Regions from separate parts of the Homo sapiens genome. Here region 2 is linked to region 1. Evidence: promoter capture Hi-C in 16 types of primary human blood cells and fetal thymus (Javierre and others, 2016). All regions are on one chromosome and are shown on one strand. The core of a region is centred on a gene start or on the middle of the fragment in contact, and the rest is flanking DNA. Distances in the headings are between cores, read along the strand shown. Region 1 holds the start of CEP76 (centrosomal protein 76). Region 2 overlaps RNMT (RNA guanine-7 methyltransferase).

The links. The method cuts DNA at HindIII sites, captures the fragments that hold promoters and counts their contacts. A CHiCAGO score of 5 or more calls a contact.
Region 2: a fragment that was not itself captured here is called in contact with the fragment with the promoter of CEP76 in region 1 in 2 of 17 cell types (total CD4 T cells and naive CD4 T cells); the score reaches 5.6 in total CD4 T cells.

Annotation. Positions count from the first base shown.
Region 1 is chr18:12,701,439-12,704,138 of GRCh38, forward strand. It overlaps CEP76 (centrosomal protein 76), which reads right to left and starts at 1,285. Exons shown (of 12, transcript NM_024899.4): 1 at 1,048-1,285. The coding sequence starts at 1,110. PSMG2 (proteasome assembly chaperone 2) reads left to right here and starts at 1,604. Exons shown (of 7, transcript NM_020232.5): 1 at 1,604-1,726. The coding sequence starts at 1,670. RefSeq lists enhancers at 430-1,327, 613-912, 923-972. The HindIII fragment of the contact is 2,487 bases long and covers 1-2,290 here.
Region 2 is chr18:13,744,354-13,747,053 of GRCh38, forward strand. RNMT (RNA guanine-7 methyltransferase) reads left to right here. Exons shown (of 12, transcript NM_003799.3): 9 at 1,867-1,984. Among named protein-coding and RNA genes, the nearest start is that of RNMT, 19 kb to the left of the region's middle. The HindIII fragment of the contact is 922 bases long and covers 913-1,834 here.

The DNA of each region.
Region 1 (2,700 bases), core at 35-2,534:
CTGCCTAATGATAAGGGAATCTTACCAGCTTTCAACTTAGTAGATGTGTAACCTCAAGCCAACTTATTTACCCTTTATAAATCTGTTTCGTCACCGATAAGAATGGAAAAACCTAGTGTAGTGCCCTCTCACGATAGTGTTGTGAGGATTAAAGATACTAGACAGCACAAAGCCTGGCACACAAGGGCACCATAAATGGTCGCTTTTATCACTTCAGCATCTTGCACTCAGTCGAGCGAGCGCTGCAGAAACTGGAGGTTCTTCTGGAGCTCCGAAATATTAACAAATTCCGTCATTACAAACCCTTTAGTAACTTCTCTTCCATGACTTATTTGAGAATTGCTGATTGAAGCTCCTGGTTCAACTTCGCTGATACCCACATGTTTCAGCGGTAAAGAAACCCTGATATCTGCCGGGCGCGGAGGCTCACGCCTGTAATCCCAGCACTTTAGGAGGCCGAGGCGGCCGGATCACGAAGTCAGGAGTTCGGGACCAGCCACACCAACATGGTGAAACCGTCTCTACTAAAAATACAAAAATTAGCCGAGCGTGGTGGCGCGCGCCTGTAATCCCAGCTACTCGGGAGGCTGAGGCGGAGAATCGCTTAAACCTGGGAGGCGGAGGTTGCAGTGAGCCGAGATCGTGCCACTGCACTCCAGCCTGGGCAACAGAGAGACTCCGTCTCAAGAAAGAAAAAAAACCTGATATCTTACAGCAGAATATAAACCTCCAAATACAACTTACACTCGATCCGACTTCCAGAAGTCGCTCGCTAAGCGCTTCATTCTCACGGCCGTCCTAAAACGCCAAGACCGCTCGTTCTATCGCCCCAGACTCTTGCTAGCACCTGCTCGGCTCGTTTTCTTTCTCGGAGACGAGGACGCTCTCCTGCCTCAAACTCAAAGCTCTGCCTACTCTGCGTTGCGCACCCCACAATCCTCGCTACAGTCCCGGCAAGCAGATGCCGCTGTCGGCCCGGGGCCGCCGGGCAGGAGGGAAAGGTTATGGGTCGGCCCGGCGGTCTCTCCCAGCACCCGCGACTCTCACCTTGCTCAGCTGCTGGTGGATGAGCTGCTTCAGCTCGGAGGCTTTCTCCGGAGGCAGCGACATGCTGGCAGCCGGCGTCTCCCCGCCGCTTCTCCCCGCCTCAGATGCCCTAACTGCGCGGCCCCGGCCGGGCCAGGGAGCGTTAGGAGCGACTGGAGCACAAAGCGCCGCAGCCGTTCGCCTAGCGCAGCTCCCGGGGGACGCAACGCCGCGTCAGGCCGGGGGCTGACCTGGAAATGAGGCCCCGGCGGCGGCGGCGCCAACTGTTTTCAAACAGTGGCGGACAAACAGGGCTTGGGGCTGGCCCGCACGCTGCCTGATCGTTTCCGCCCGCCGCTCCACCTCCCCGCGGGCCCCGCACCCCGAGACCTCAGCGCACCCCATCGCCTTGCTTGCCAGGGTCTCCGAAAGCGCTGCTGGCCCCTCTTCGCGGCCACCCGGCGGCCTCTTTCCGCCCTCTGAACCGGCAGTTAGCTGGACGGGCCTCAAGGGCCCGGCGCCCAGGGACTCAAAGGACCCTCCCGCGCCCCGCGAGGCTCCGGGGTCTCGGGCTTCCGCCTTCTTGCTGCCCTCGTTCTTGCCAGGGCCGCGGTTAGTCCCTGCTGGCCACCCCACTGCGACCATGTTCGTTCCCTGCGGGGAGTCGGCCCCCGACCTTGCCGGCTTCACCCTCCTAATGGTGAGTCTCCATTTGCGCTCGGGGCTGCCGCCTCCCGAGGCCCCTGCGGTGTCGCCACCCCGACGCGGGGTGTTTGGCGGTGCCTTGGGAGAAATAGGGCACTAGTTTCTATTTCATGTTTTCGGCCGGAAAAAACAGGGAGGTTGTAGCCGGAGGCAGCCGTCCAAACAGAACCTTTGTCGGCTGTAAAACCAAACGTAGTCAAGTCTACAATTTGTAGTCTCTGTTTCCTGTAAAACGTGATGTGTTCGTACGTTCTAGATACACTGTACTTATGTTTTGCAGGGCATCCTTCAGTTTTATCCTAGAAAGTCTTTCTACGACTAGTTTTAGAATTAGTCTTAAGCTAGCATATTATCGTTGTTAACCGGAGAACTACTGATAGGGCAATAAACATTAACTCTTGCCGGTAGTTAGCGCAGTTTTATCGCTCTTTATATTCATTCATTGTTTTAATAAAGTCTGTTATGTGCGAGTATTAGAATAAGACTAGGTGCGTGCCCTCAAAGAATTTACACTGTAGTTGGAAACATGTAATCTAAGAGCAATAAATGCTAGGCTAGAAGCTTGAAAGGGTATAGAAAGGTCCTGAGATAATTGGGAGGGGAGGGACAGATGGCTTGTTAAGAAAGGCTTTATAGAGAAAGTAGTATGCAAAAGATGGAGGGCCCGTGGGCTGGGAGTAGGGGAAAGTAGGCGTTTCAGAAAGATGGATGTCTAAAACAGAGTCAGTAAGCAGGGGGACTTGAAGACTGCCAAGAATTTGGAATGACACATTGAGAGAGAATAGGCTGTAGGCCCTGTGAACCCAGAAGGCACCATTGGAAAATGCACTGTTTGGAGTGGTATAAGGCTGGAGAGAGCTGGAAGTGTCATCCTTATTCATTACATATAAAACACACAGCCCCAGAGAAGAGTGTTTCAAAAAGGAGGGAGTGGCCATGTCAAAAGTAGCCCAGAGATGTGTAAGGTGA
Region 2 (2,700 bases), core at 124-2,623, 1.0 Mb after region 1:
TGTGTGGCAAAACTTATTCAAATTGGGCCTCAATTCTTTGAATCATGATTTTTTTAGGTGTAAAACTTGGTTTCATTTCTAAAGGGTTATTTTAGAGATTTACAAACGAAAATGAACTGCCTGGAATAAAAAACTTGGTTTCATTTCTAAAGGCTTATTTTAGAGATTTACAAAAGAAAATGAACTGCCTGGAATAAAAAACTTGGTTTCATTTCTAAAGGCTTATTTTAGAGATTTACAAAAGAAAATGAACTGCCTGGAATAAAAGACTTAATTTTGCTCATGTTGCCTTTCCAAGGAGGATTAATTGAAGTAACAGAATCCTGCCTTACGTATACCTCTTACATAGAAACCTCAGTGGCCCTCCAGTGTTTGCCCTTACCCTATCCCCTCAAATGCCACCCTGTACACGAGCCTTCCCACCTAATTTTCAGGGTTTCTCCCCTTCCTTCCACTCTTCCTTTAACTGCTGCCTGAAGTCATCTCCAGGCTCCCTCTTGTTGTCTACAGATACATGATTATAAACTTGGCAAATGCAGTGAGGAAAAAAACTACCTGAGAGTCTAACGGAGAGACCTAATATAATTAAGATTTAAGGAAGGTGCCTGTAAAGAATCGATGTTTGAGTCAGGATCTAAAGGATGGAAAAGTAGGTGGGCAGCTGAGGACTGGAGGGAAGAATGCTCCTGACAAGAGGACAGCGTGTGTGAGGGCCCAGCAGTGGGAAAGCTAGGCTAGTCCAAGATGTTGAAAGAAGGCCCATCCTGATTTATATCGGGGGCTGTCCCAAAATGAGGCAGCATTCCTTTACAGATGAATGTCTTCGAGACCATGTTCTGTATCCTAAGTGCACTGGAGCCCAGTGGAGGGTGTTAAGGGGGTAGTGACATGACTCAGGTCCGCATTTCTGAAAGCTTAATCTGGCTGCGATTGGAAAATTCATTGAGGGAGAGTAAGAATGGAAGCAGGGGACAAGCAAAGTGAGTTTATGGACTGGTGCCACTGAGTGGTGATGGTGACTGAAGCAGCAGGATGGTGCCAAATGCAGGAGGTAAGAAGTGGACCTATTTGAAATTGATGTTTTCTAGGTAAAATAGAAAGGACTTAGTGATGTGTATTGAGCACAGTGGGTAAAAGAGAAGGGGAGATGGCATGGATCACTAGGTGGATTTACTGAAATGGCAAAGATTGGCAGTAAAAGAGCAGTGATGTTCAGCCTTAGATGTGGGACGTTAGAGAGTGCCAGTGACACATGCAGGTGAAGATTTCTAATAAGCAGTAGAATCCATGAGTGATGAGAGACAGCTGAACTACCGATAGCTGGGGGGTGGAAGTGAGTAGGGCTCTGGACTGTACTCTACAGAACCTTGAAGTTTAGAAGTTGGGTAAAAAAAAACCTGTAAGTGAAAAGGAAAAAAAAAAAACCTGCAAAGAAGCAGTTCATGATGTAGGGGAAAAATTAATAGTGTATCTTGCCAGAGAAGTCGAGATGAAAGTGAATCTTTAAGAAGGAAGTTGGCAGCTGTTTGCAGTGCAGCTGTGAGAGATCAAGTAAAGTGAAATGGAATCAGTAGAAAAGAGTTTCCTACACTTTTTCCGCATCTCACAGCTCCGGAGACTCTCATTTACTTCCTGACCTTTATGTTATACTAATAGAGCCCTCTGAAACCCCTGAGATTTAGAATGCATGTTTCTTTTAGGTGTGATATGTTACTCTTGATTCATTTTGTATTACTGTATTGTGAATTTATCAAGGGAGTGGTAGCTTTTTTAGTTAAGTCCAGAAGATGTCATTGCTGTACAAAAGTAAGTTGAGGAATTACAAACATGTGGAAGCTTTTTCATTAAGTATTCTTTTTTGGACAGAATGGCAAAGAAGTACAATATGAAACTAGTCTACAAAAAAACATTTCTGGAATTCTACGAAGAAAAGATTAAGAACAATGAAAATAAAATGCTCTTAAAACGAATGCAGGCCTTGGAGGTGAGTATTTAGAAAAGATGTACAAATTTCAGTCATGGTGAACTTGTTTGGCTGTTCTTGAGATCCTTGCAAGGCCATCTGAACATGAAATAGTTATGTGTATTACGCTCTTCAGCACCTAGGACGGAGCTTGATACAGAAACTGCATGGTGAGTGCTCAGTAAATACTTGATGAAAGAATGAGTACTGGTGTTACCAAATTCTGTTTTCTAGGATAGTACTGCTTTAAAATAGGATTTCTCAGCCTCAGGACTGTTGACATTTTGTTCTGGATAATGCCTTGCTGTGGGATGCTGTGCATTGTAGGATATTCAGTAGCATTCCTGGCTTCTACGCACTAGATGCCTTCCAGTAACACTCTTGTCCCCAGTTACGATAACCAGAAAACTCTCTCCAGACATTGCCAAATGTCCCCTGGTGGACAAAATTGCCCCAAGTTGAGAACCAGTTCTTTACAACAGTGCCTTTTGGTTACGACAGTAATTTAGAACCTTCCTGGCCAGTGTCCAGACAAGCTCAAACCATACATAATTTTATTGCATGGTAATTCTTTAGCAGGGTTCCAGTCTTTTAGACTGTGTTGTTGCTGAGACCTCTCCTGTCCTAATGCAGCAGTGAAGGTATCTATATAAGCTTCAATTACACAGCCATTGATTGTTTTTCCTTTTTCTCCTTACCAGACAATGTTTGGTTGGACAGACCTAAAATATTCAGTG